Regions from separate parts of the Homo sapiens genome. Here regions 1 and 2 are each linked to region 3. Evidence: promoter capture Hi-C in 16 types of primary human blood cells and fetal thymus (Javierre and others, 2016). All regions are on one chromosome and are shown on one strand. The core of a region is centred on a gene start or on the middle of the fragment in contact, and the rest is flanking DNA. Distances in the headings are between cores, read along the strand shown.

What was found. The method cuts DNA at HindIII sites, captures the fragments that hold promoters and counts their contacts. A CHiCAGO score of 5 or more calls a contact.
Region 1: a contact is called between a fragment that was not itself captured here and the fragment with the promoter of LINC00659 in region 3, in 2 of 17 cell types (monocytes and neutrophils). The highest score is 6.4, in monocytes.
Region 2: a contact is called between the fragment with the promoter of BHLHE23 here and the fragment with the promoter of LINC00659 in region 3, in 2 of 17 cell types (activated CD4 T cells and total B cells). The highest score is 5.7, in activated CD4 T cells.

What each region holds. Positions count from the first base shown.
Region 1 is chr20:62,572,810-62,575,596 of GRCh38, forward strand. It overlaps the pseudogene RPL7P3. Among named protein-coding and RNA genes, the nearest start is that of MIR133A2, 9.3 kb to the left of the region's middle. The HindIII fragment of the contact is 2,521 bases long and covers 13-2,533 here.
Region 2 is chr20:63,005,550-63,008,249 of GRCh38, forward strand. It overlaps BHLHE23 (basic helix-loop-helix family member e23), which reads right to left and starts at 1,415. Exons shown (of 1, transcript NM_080606.4): 1 at 378-1,415. The coding sequence starts at 1,225. The coding sequence ends at 500. RefSeq lists enhancers at 1,134-1,839, 1,840-2,547. The HindIII fragment of the contact is 10,733 bases long and covers 1-2,700 here.
Region 3 is chr20:62,775,481-62,778,180 of GRCh38, forward strand. LINC00659 (long intergenic non-protein coding RNA 659) reads right to left here and starts at 1,376. Exons shown (of 3, transcript NR_046225.1): 1 at 1,326-1,376. RefSeq lists a silencer at 683-844. The HindIII fragment of the contact is 9,640 bases long and covers 1-2,700 here.

The DNA.
Region 1 (2,787 bases), core at 23-2,522, 200 kb before region 3:
GAGTTATGAGAAAGCTTTGCACCACCGCAAGGAATACAGAGCCCAGAGCTGGGATCCGAGTCACTGTGGCACTGGGACAGAGGCACTTCGTCGTACGCACCTGGGAGCCCAGACTGGCCTGGCCATTGGCAGCAGGGGGTCCCCGGTGTGGGCTTGCAGCTTGTTCACCTTTACTGTGTCTTCAGGGGCACATCTGTCCATCTCAGCAAGGCTTCAGTGAACGTGCCTTCAGGACGTGGAAGCAGACACCGCACTGTGTCGGGGGCCTGAACACGAAGTCGGTAGAGGAGCAGGTCTCCAGGCACGGCTCCGGCAACACCAACAGGAAGCGGGCCACCTTGGAGAGCGCTCTTCCACTGCTGGAGTTCCTGGTCAATACGGCATCGTCTGCGTGGAGGGTCTGATGCATGAGATCTACGCTGCTGGAAAACACTTCAAAGAAGCAGACTACCTCCTGTGGGCTGAAGTTCTCTTCTCCACCAGGTGAAATGAAGAAAAAGCCCACTCGTTTTGTAGAAGGTAGGGGTGCTGGCAGCCAGGAAGACCAGACCAGCAGGCTTTCTAGCAGAATGAACTCAGGTCTACATCATTATTTTTGTAATCTGGTAAGTTAATAAATGGTGACTGCCTTTGAATTTAAAAGAAATATGTATCATTATGGATTCATGAACCGAAACGTGTTTGGTAGGTCTCAGTCCACTGCAATTATTATCATCTTTGCAGCTCAGATCGTCCTGTCTCTGGCCAGGTGTGTCTCATCGGGTGGACCCCACGTCCTGCGTGCTCTCTCAGGGTCAGCTTGGTTGTCATATAATTTACATACAAAAAAAATGCACAGATTTTAAGTGTGAAGTTTGTAGAGTTTTAACAAATGTTGAGTTTTACACTCATGCAACCACCATCACAACCAAGATCTGGAAGATTCCATCAGTTCAAAAACTTCCCTCATATACCTTGGCAGTCATCCCCTTCCTCTGTCCCAGCAATCATGGACTAGCCAGCATGGATCAGATCTGTTTCAGCTGGAACTTTCTAAATGGAATCATGCAGTGTGTGGGCTGTGTGCCTGGCCTCTTTCAACATCATTTTAAGACTCTTCTGCGCTGTTGTGTGTTTCCATAGGTTTTGTTCCTTTTCTTTGCTGAGAAGGGCTCCATTCTATGACGACACCATTGGCCTGCTGATGGGCATTCGAGAGTCTCAGCCTCCACAGGGTGCAGAGGGCAGAGGCAGGGCTGCAGGAGCCACATGGGGCTGGTTGCTGTCACTCCTGCCATGCTGGGTTGGCTGGGGATAGAAACTCAACTCAGAAGATGAATCAACTTGCTTATGTGGCCAAGAGGTCTGAAAATAGGGCTGGATCCAGAACCCAAACCATGTCATCAGAAATCTTTCTCCATAGCTCAGCTCCACTTTCCTTGGGGCTAGCTTCACTCCTGGCAGGCTGTCTGCAGGCGGAGCAAAATGGACACTGAGATTTCAGGCTTATATATCTAATCGGTGGGACAGAGAGGGAGGAGAGAGGGAGAGAGAGAGAGAGAGGTGGAGGGGGAGAGAAAGATGCAGAGAGAGACAGAGAGAAAGAGACAGAGAGTGAGAGACGCACAGACAGAAAGAGACAGAGTGAGAGAAAGAGACAGAGAGGAGGGAAAGAGACAAAGAGAAAGAGAGAGACAGAGGGAAAAAGACACCAAAAGAGCAAGCACGAGAGAGATTCATTTCAAGAAACCCAGCAAAGGTCCCAAGATGGGCACTCGCTGGCCAGGCTTGGGTCACTTGACCACTTGGGGTGGGAGAAAGCCATCCCCTAGAACTACCCAGGCTCCCCGGATTGAAACCAGGGACCTGATAATGAAAGGAGGAGGGACGCTGGGCAGGCAGAGTGAGGCCACCCTGCACCGTTGCCTCCACAGTGTGCTGATGCCAGGCCCCGCGTGAGCGTCTGTCACCCACCGTGCACTGCCCTCCCACCTGGTGGGCCGACTCCCGCAGCCCCGCCGTCTCGATACAGTGGTGGGTGGGTGGTGAGCTGCTTTCCTGTGCTCTGACCTTACTTTATTTCTAAGAGTGAAAACAGAAAGACGTGAGTGCCAACGCCAGCGACAGAAAGCAGGCTCTGTGAACAGCGCAGAGGCAAGGCTGGCACTGCCCAAGCTGCCCGGGGGACAGGCACGTGAGGCAGGTATGGCGCTGTGGACTGCAGACTGGGACGTTTGGGGCCACTTTCCTATAGAGGGTGTATCTTTATAGCAGCTGTAATACACGTTTCCTCATTGGAGGAGAAGACACGCTGGGTGACCATCTGTGTGTCAATGTACACAGTCAATTTTGTACATTTTCCAGGATTGCATTGTGGACACAGTGAAAGAGACCCCTGGGAGAAATGCTGCGTTCAGTGGAGACTGAACCCAGGTGGGGGGCTGGGGGGTGCCTCCTGTGACTCGGGGCAGGTGCCTGACTACCTGGGGTGCTTTCCAAGGAAGGTGGGCAGGGGCATGAGGAGGGCCCCTCCAGGGCCTCCGTACCTAAGTGAAGCTTCGTCAATAAGCTTCTCGGGAGATGGCCAGGGGCAATGAGGGAGACAAAGGGAGCTCCAACTCAAAACCTGAGAGAAAAGCAAATGGCGAATGTGATTTCATAAAAATGTTTCACTGACAAATCACAAGGCTTTTCCTGCTATGGGAACCCCATTCCTCAGCTCTCCCCACCGGAAAAGAACCTGGTGGGGCAGGGTGGGGAGACCCAGTCCCACACGGGAATTTCTGGGTGGAGCGTTTCCATATTTTT
Region 2 (2,700 bases), core at 165-2,664, 230 kb after region 3:
GCAGTTTAGCACGAAGGGCCGGCTGGAGCGGGAGCGCGAGGCCCACTGCAAGAGGATCAGGAGCCAGTAAGTCCGGCTTTTCTTCGTCTCCACCTTTCGTGCGCCCGGGGCCAGGACCGCCTGTCCGGAATCTGACCAGTGCCCGTCCTCGCCGTGGCCCTGGGACCCCGCGGTGGTCTTCTTTTGGGGACGAACGGCAGTGCCCGAAGGATGCTCTACCCACCCCCGTTCCTAGACTTGCTGGGTCCCGACAATACCCAGTGGGTGCCGCGAGTTCCCGGGCGCAGAGTCCAGCGTCCGGCTCTCGAGCTCAATCCCGCGCCCCGACGGCCTTGGCGCTTCCCGCTGCGCTAAACTGTCCACCGCGCACAGGCTGGAAGCGAAGTCGGGCCCCCTCCTCCTGGTCTGCAGGGTCCCTCCAGGCCTTTCCTGTCCGGGCAGAGAGACAGTCACAGGGGCGATCGGAGGACGCGTGCGGGAGGGCCGGGGGCCCGCGCGGTCACGGCTTCTCGTGACAGTGTTTGCAAAGCGCGGAGGGCGTCCCGGAGAAGGCGGCGCACTTGTCAGGGCAGGGCCCCAGGGCGGCGCCTGCGGAGAAGGGGCACACAGTGGCCTGGCCGAAGGGCGTCAAGGGCGCGGCGTTTACGGGCGCGGCCAGGCCCTGGCCCTGGTTGAGGAAGGCCACCAGGCGCCGCATCTCGTCCAGGGCCTGCGCCTGCATGAGGATATAGTTCTTGGCGAGCAGCAGCGTGGCGATCTTGGAGAGCTTGCGCACCGACGGGCTGTGCGCGTAGGGGATGACGGCTCGCAGCCCGTCCAGCGCGTCGTTTAGGTCGTGCATGCGCCGCCGCTCGCGCGCGTTGATGCTGAGCCGCAGAGACCGCTGCTCTCGCGGCCGCCGCCGCCCGTCCGCCGCGCTCCCTGGCCCGCGCCGCCGCCGCCGCTGCTCGAAGGCGTCGTCCTCGTCCCCGCTCTGTTCGCCGCTGCTCTCCGCCGCCTGAGCTGGGGCGCGAGGTGCAGGCGCCGCGGGGAGGTCGCCGCCCGGGCCCGGAGTGCCGTAGCCGCGGGCCGCTTCGGGTTCTCGCGCCGCCCCGTAGGCGAGACCCGCAGCCGCCGCCGCGTAGCCGTGGCTTAGTGCCAGGTACGCGTCCCCCGACAGCGACTTGAGCTCGGCCATGGCCGCGCCGCCTGGGCTCGGGGGCTCGCCGGGTGGGCGGATGCTCATGTGGGTGAGCAGCCCCCGAGGCCGGCCCGAGCCCGCCGCTGCCGCTGCCGCTGCGATGAGGCTCCCGGCTCTGCGCGTCGGTCTGGCTTGCCTGCGGGTCCCAGAGCCTCGGCGCCCGCTGCCTCCTCCGCCTCTTCCTTCTCTCCCACCTCCTCTCCCTCCCAGCCGCGACGCGCAGGGGGCGGGCTCTACCTCCCCCTCGCCCCCGCTTCGGTTTTAAGCCGCGGAGGCGCCCGGTGGGACCTCGCTGCTGTCCAATCAGGGGGGACCGGGTGAGCTCCTCTTCCTGGAGCCGGGCTCCACCAGCGCCGCAGGCTCACAGGCCGGGGGTGGGGGCTCTGGACCGAGGGGCGGCGCGGGGCGGCGCGGGGCGGCGCGCGCGGTCCTGGAGCGCTAGTACTTGCTTCTCGACTCCCCGGCCGCCGCCTCCGGCCGCCCCGGGGATTCCGCCACCAAACGCACGCGTCCCAGGTGGGCACCCGCCTCGGTCCGTCTTTGAGTCTGACCCTAGCGCAAGAGTCCCTGGCGACACGCAGGGGCCAGAGCGGGGGGGCGCGCCGCAATAGCAGCAGCGCCAGCGCCAACACCCTGTCCCGCTGAGGGGCCGCTTCGGGTCGGGGTCAGGGTCGTGGGCGCTCTGGTGCAGCCGCGGCGCAGCGTGTACCCGGAGCCCGCACACTCCCTGCTCGGGGCGCCCTGTGGCCAGGCTTGAGGGGCAGAGTGAGAGGGAGTTTCTAGAACCTGTTGAAAAACGCCACGAGCGTTGCAGGCCGGGGAGGGCGGGAAGGTGGAGGGCAGCGCGGCCTGGGGCTCCCCGGGGGTGGGAGGGGAGCTCTGTGAGCTGCAGGACCGCCTCTTCCCTGCCAGCCGCTTCCTGGGCATCTATCAGCGAAACGCGTGAGGCTTGGTGGGCTTTCCCGGAGCCTCCGAACCCCTGGGGTCCAGCCACACTGGATGGGAATGTGGCCAGCCTCGGACTCGCCTTTTCAGTCCTCTTCCAACCCCGCATGAAGGCCAGAACCCCAGCCCTTCTCCCAGGTGGGAACCTGCCTGGAGGCCCGGCCGAGTGCTGAGGCTAGAGTGTGCTGAGGGATAGTGGCTTCTCCGGTCCTGGCTTGGGTGGGAGACTGGGCCACCCTGGCCTATGGCACGAGGTGGAGCGGCCCGTCGGGCCCTTCTGTGTGACCTGGGAAGGGCCGCATACCCTCCCTGTTCTCCAGGCTCCGCCCCAGGAGGAGCCACAGCGATGGGGCAGTGTGCGCAGCCCCGGGAGGGGAGTGGGAGCTGCACGTGTGTGGGGCGGATGTGCTGTCTGGAAGGTTCTGGGAACGCAGCAGTGACCGGCCTGTCCGGTGGTTCCCTGCCAGGTGCGGGGTGTGAGGAGACAGATGCATGGATAAGTCTCCGTGGGAAACTCAGGCCTTTGTCCTGGCGGAGGGGAATGGGTCTGAGGCAGCCTCTGCCGGGCTGGCGGC
Region 3 (2,700 bases), core at 126-2,625:
TGAGATGCCCAAGGACAAGGGCAACAGAGAGTGTGAAAAGCTGGAGTAGACAGGACAGAAAACAGGGTGCAGCGTCCCCCAGGTTGGCAGATAGCCCAGCCCCAGGGACCCCACAGCCATGGCAACCTGTGTGAATGAGCCCCAGGAGCAGGGCAGTACACGATCTGCGCGACTGTGCGGGGCAGCCCTGGGTCTCTGCCTCAGGGGAGAGATTGTGTCCTCGCCTTTTGTGGTTTCTAGAGGTTCCTGCCCTCCTTGGCTGCACGGCATCTCCCAGCCTCTCTCTCCCTTCCGTCGTCCCCTCTCCTCCTCTGACCCTGACCCTCCCAGTCCCTCTTAGAGGGGCTGTGATTAAACTGTGCCCACCCTGACCATCCAGAATAATCTCCCATCTCAAGGTCCTTAACAGCATGTGGAACTGCACTAGCCGCCCCAAGGCCCCCAAAAGGCAACCCTGGATTGGGCCCCCCAAGTTGCCTGGGATTCATGGCCACCACCCGGCTCGACGGCTCCAGACCGAAATGCACCCAGTTATAGAAACAGACAGTTGCCTCTTGAATGTGCACATGTGTGAGGAGAGTGTCACACCCGTCGAATTAAGGTGGACCCGCCATGAGTGGGGGCAATGCTGGCCAATGCCCACCTGCCCAGCACCCACAGCTCTCGGCCTGGGGCTCCCTCTGTCTCTGGAGCCCGCACTAAAGTGTGCGTCTCCATCCACGACTGGCAGGGCTTGGGGCATAGACATCCCGCTGCCTTGCCTGGAGGCGCCCCAGGCCTCCACTCCCACACTGTCTCAGGGCTCCCCGGGGCTCGGCTCTCCTTGCTCACAGTGGTCCGGGCTGGGGTTCCTTCTTGGTTGCATTTCCAGCTGTGTTCTTTCCTTCACTTTCTCACTCTCCCTTGCCTCAGGGTCTGCATCTGGGGGTCCACTGGGGAGGACTCAGCCTCTCCCGCGTCCTCCATCCCACACACCTGTCCCTGGGCAGCCACGGGGAACAGGAGCACAGGGGACAGCAGGCAGAGGGCAGCGCCCGGGCGAAGGGGACTTTCGCCCTTGCTTCATGCAGCCCTGGCACCCGCAGCAGGGTAAGACGAGATCCCAGAGGAGGAGTCTTGGCCGCAGAACTGCAGGGCCAAGGCACCAGCCGCTCGGGGGCCTGGAGAGCTCAGGTCACAAACTTGAAGTCAGCTGCCCAGGAAGCAGCCTCAGCTGGGGGTCACAGGCCAACTGGGCAGTGCCCTTGGCCACACCTGTGGAAGGAGGACAGAGGAGGGCAGGGCGGAGGAGGGAGGTGCTGGGCTGCAATGTCACCTCTACAGACCTCGGCTGATCCCAAGGGGGTCCACAGTGGATATGGTCCTTCAGGGGTGCCCTTGAAGGCAGGAAGGGGACAGGACTTTATACTGTTCCTCCCACCCCTTCGAGCAGTCACCAACTGCAGCCCAGATGAGGTCAACAGGTACAGAAAGGAGGGGGTGGGACAGGAAGGAGGGGCGGGACAGGAAGGAGGGGGCGGGACAGGAAGGAGGGGCAGGACAGGAAGGAGAGGGTGGGACAGGAAGGAGGGGCGGGACAGGAAGGAGGGGGCGGGACAGGAGGAGGAGATGGGAACAGGGAGGTGGAACGGGAAGGAGGAAATGGGACAGGAAGGAAGAGATGGGAGCAGGAAGGAGATAGGACTGGAAGGAGGAGATGGGACTGGAAGGAGGAAATGGGACAGGAAGGAGGAGATGAGGCAGGAAGGAGGAGATGAGGCAGGAAGGAGATGAGGCAGGAAGGAGGAGATGAGGCAGGAAGGAGGAGATGAGGCAGAAAGGAGGAGATGGGACGGAAAGGAGGGGATAGGACAGAAACGAGGGATCAGGGTCCTATTCTAATCTCCTGGGGGCATGATTGCAGGGGGTGACATGATTACTTCCAGCCAGCCCTACATGAGCCACCTCGTCCATGGAGTCAGCCCCGCCAGGGCAGCAGAGCCCTGGGTTCGCACAGGGAGCCAGGGTGGCGTGGGGCCTGCATTGCAGACTCCATTTGTCCACATCAATCACTTCTCTACGGCCCAAATCACCCTTAGTTGCCCAGTTCCTGCTCCGCGGCAGTCTGGCTCCTGCTGGCGCCCCAGCCATCTGTCTGCATTAGAGAATGATGCTTGCCAGGGCCTCAGGGAGGTGGCACGGATGGGCAACACTGTGCTCCCGGACCAGGTGACAGACACCACCTCATGCCCCATGGCATGGACCTCCACCTGTCTGATGGCTTTGCCCCAGCCTATCTGATGGCATGGTCCCTGGCCAGTCTATCTAATGGCGTGGTCCCCAGCATGTCTGATGGCGTGGTCCCCAGCCTGCCTGATGGCGTGGTCCCCAGCCTGTCTGATGGCATGGTCCCCGGCCTGTCTGATGGCGTGGTCCCCAGTCTGTCTGATGGCGTGGTCCCCGGCCTGTCTGATGGCGTGGTCCCCGGCCTGTCTGATGGCATGGTCCCCGGTCTGTCTGATGGTGTGGTCCCCAGCCTGTCTGATGGTGTGGTCCCCGGCCTGTCTGATGGCTTGGTCCCTGGTCTATTTGATGGTGTGGTCCCCAGCCTGTCTGAAGGTGTGGTCCCCAGCCTGTCTGATGGCGTGGTCCCCGGCCTGTCTGATGGCTTGGTCCCTGGTCTATTTGATGGTGTGGTCCCCAGCCTATCTGAAGGTGTGG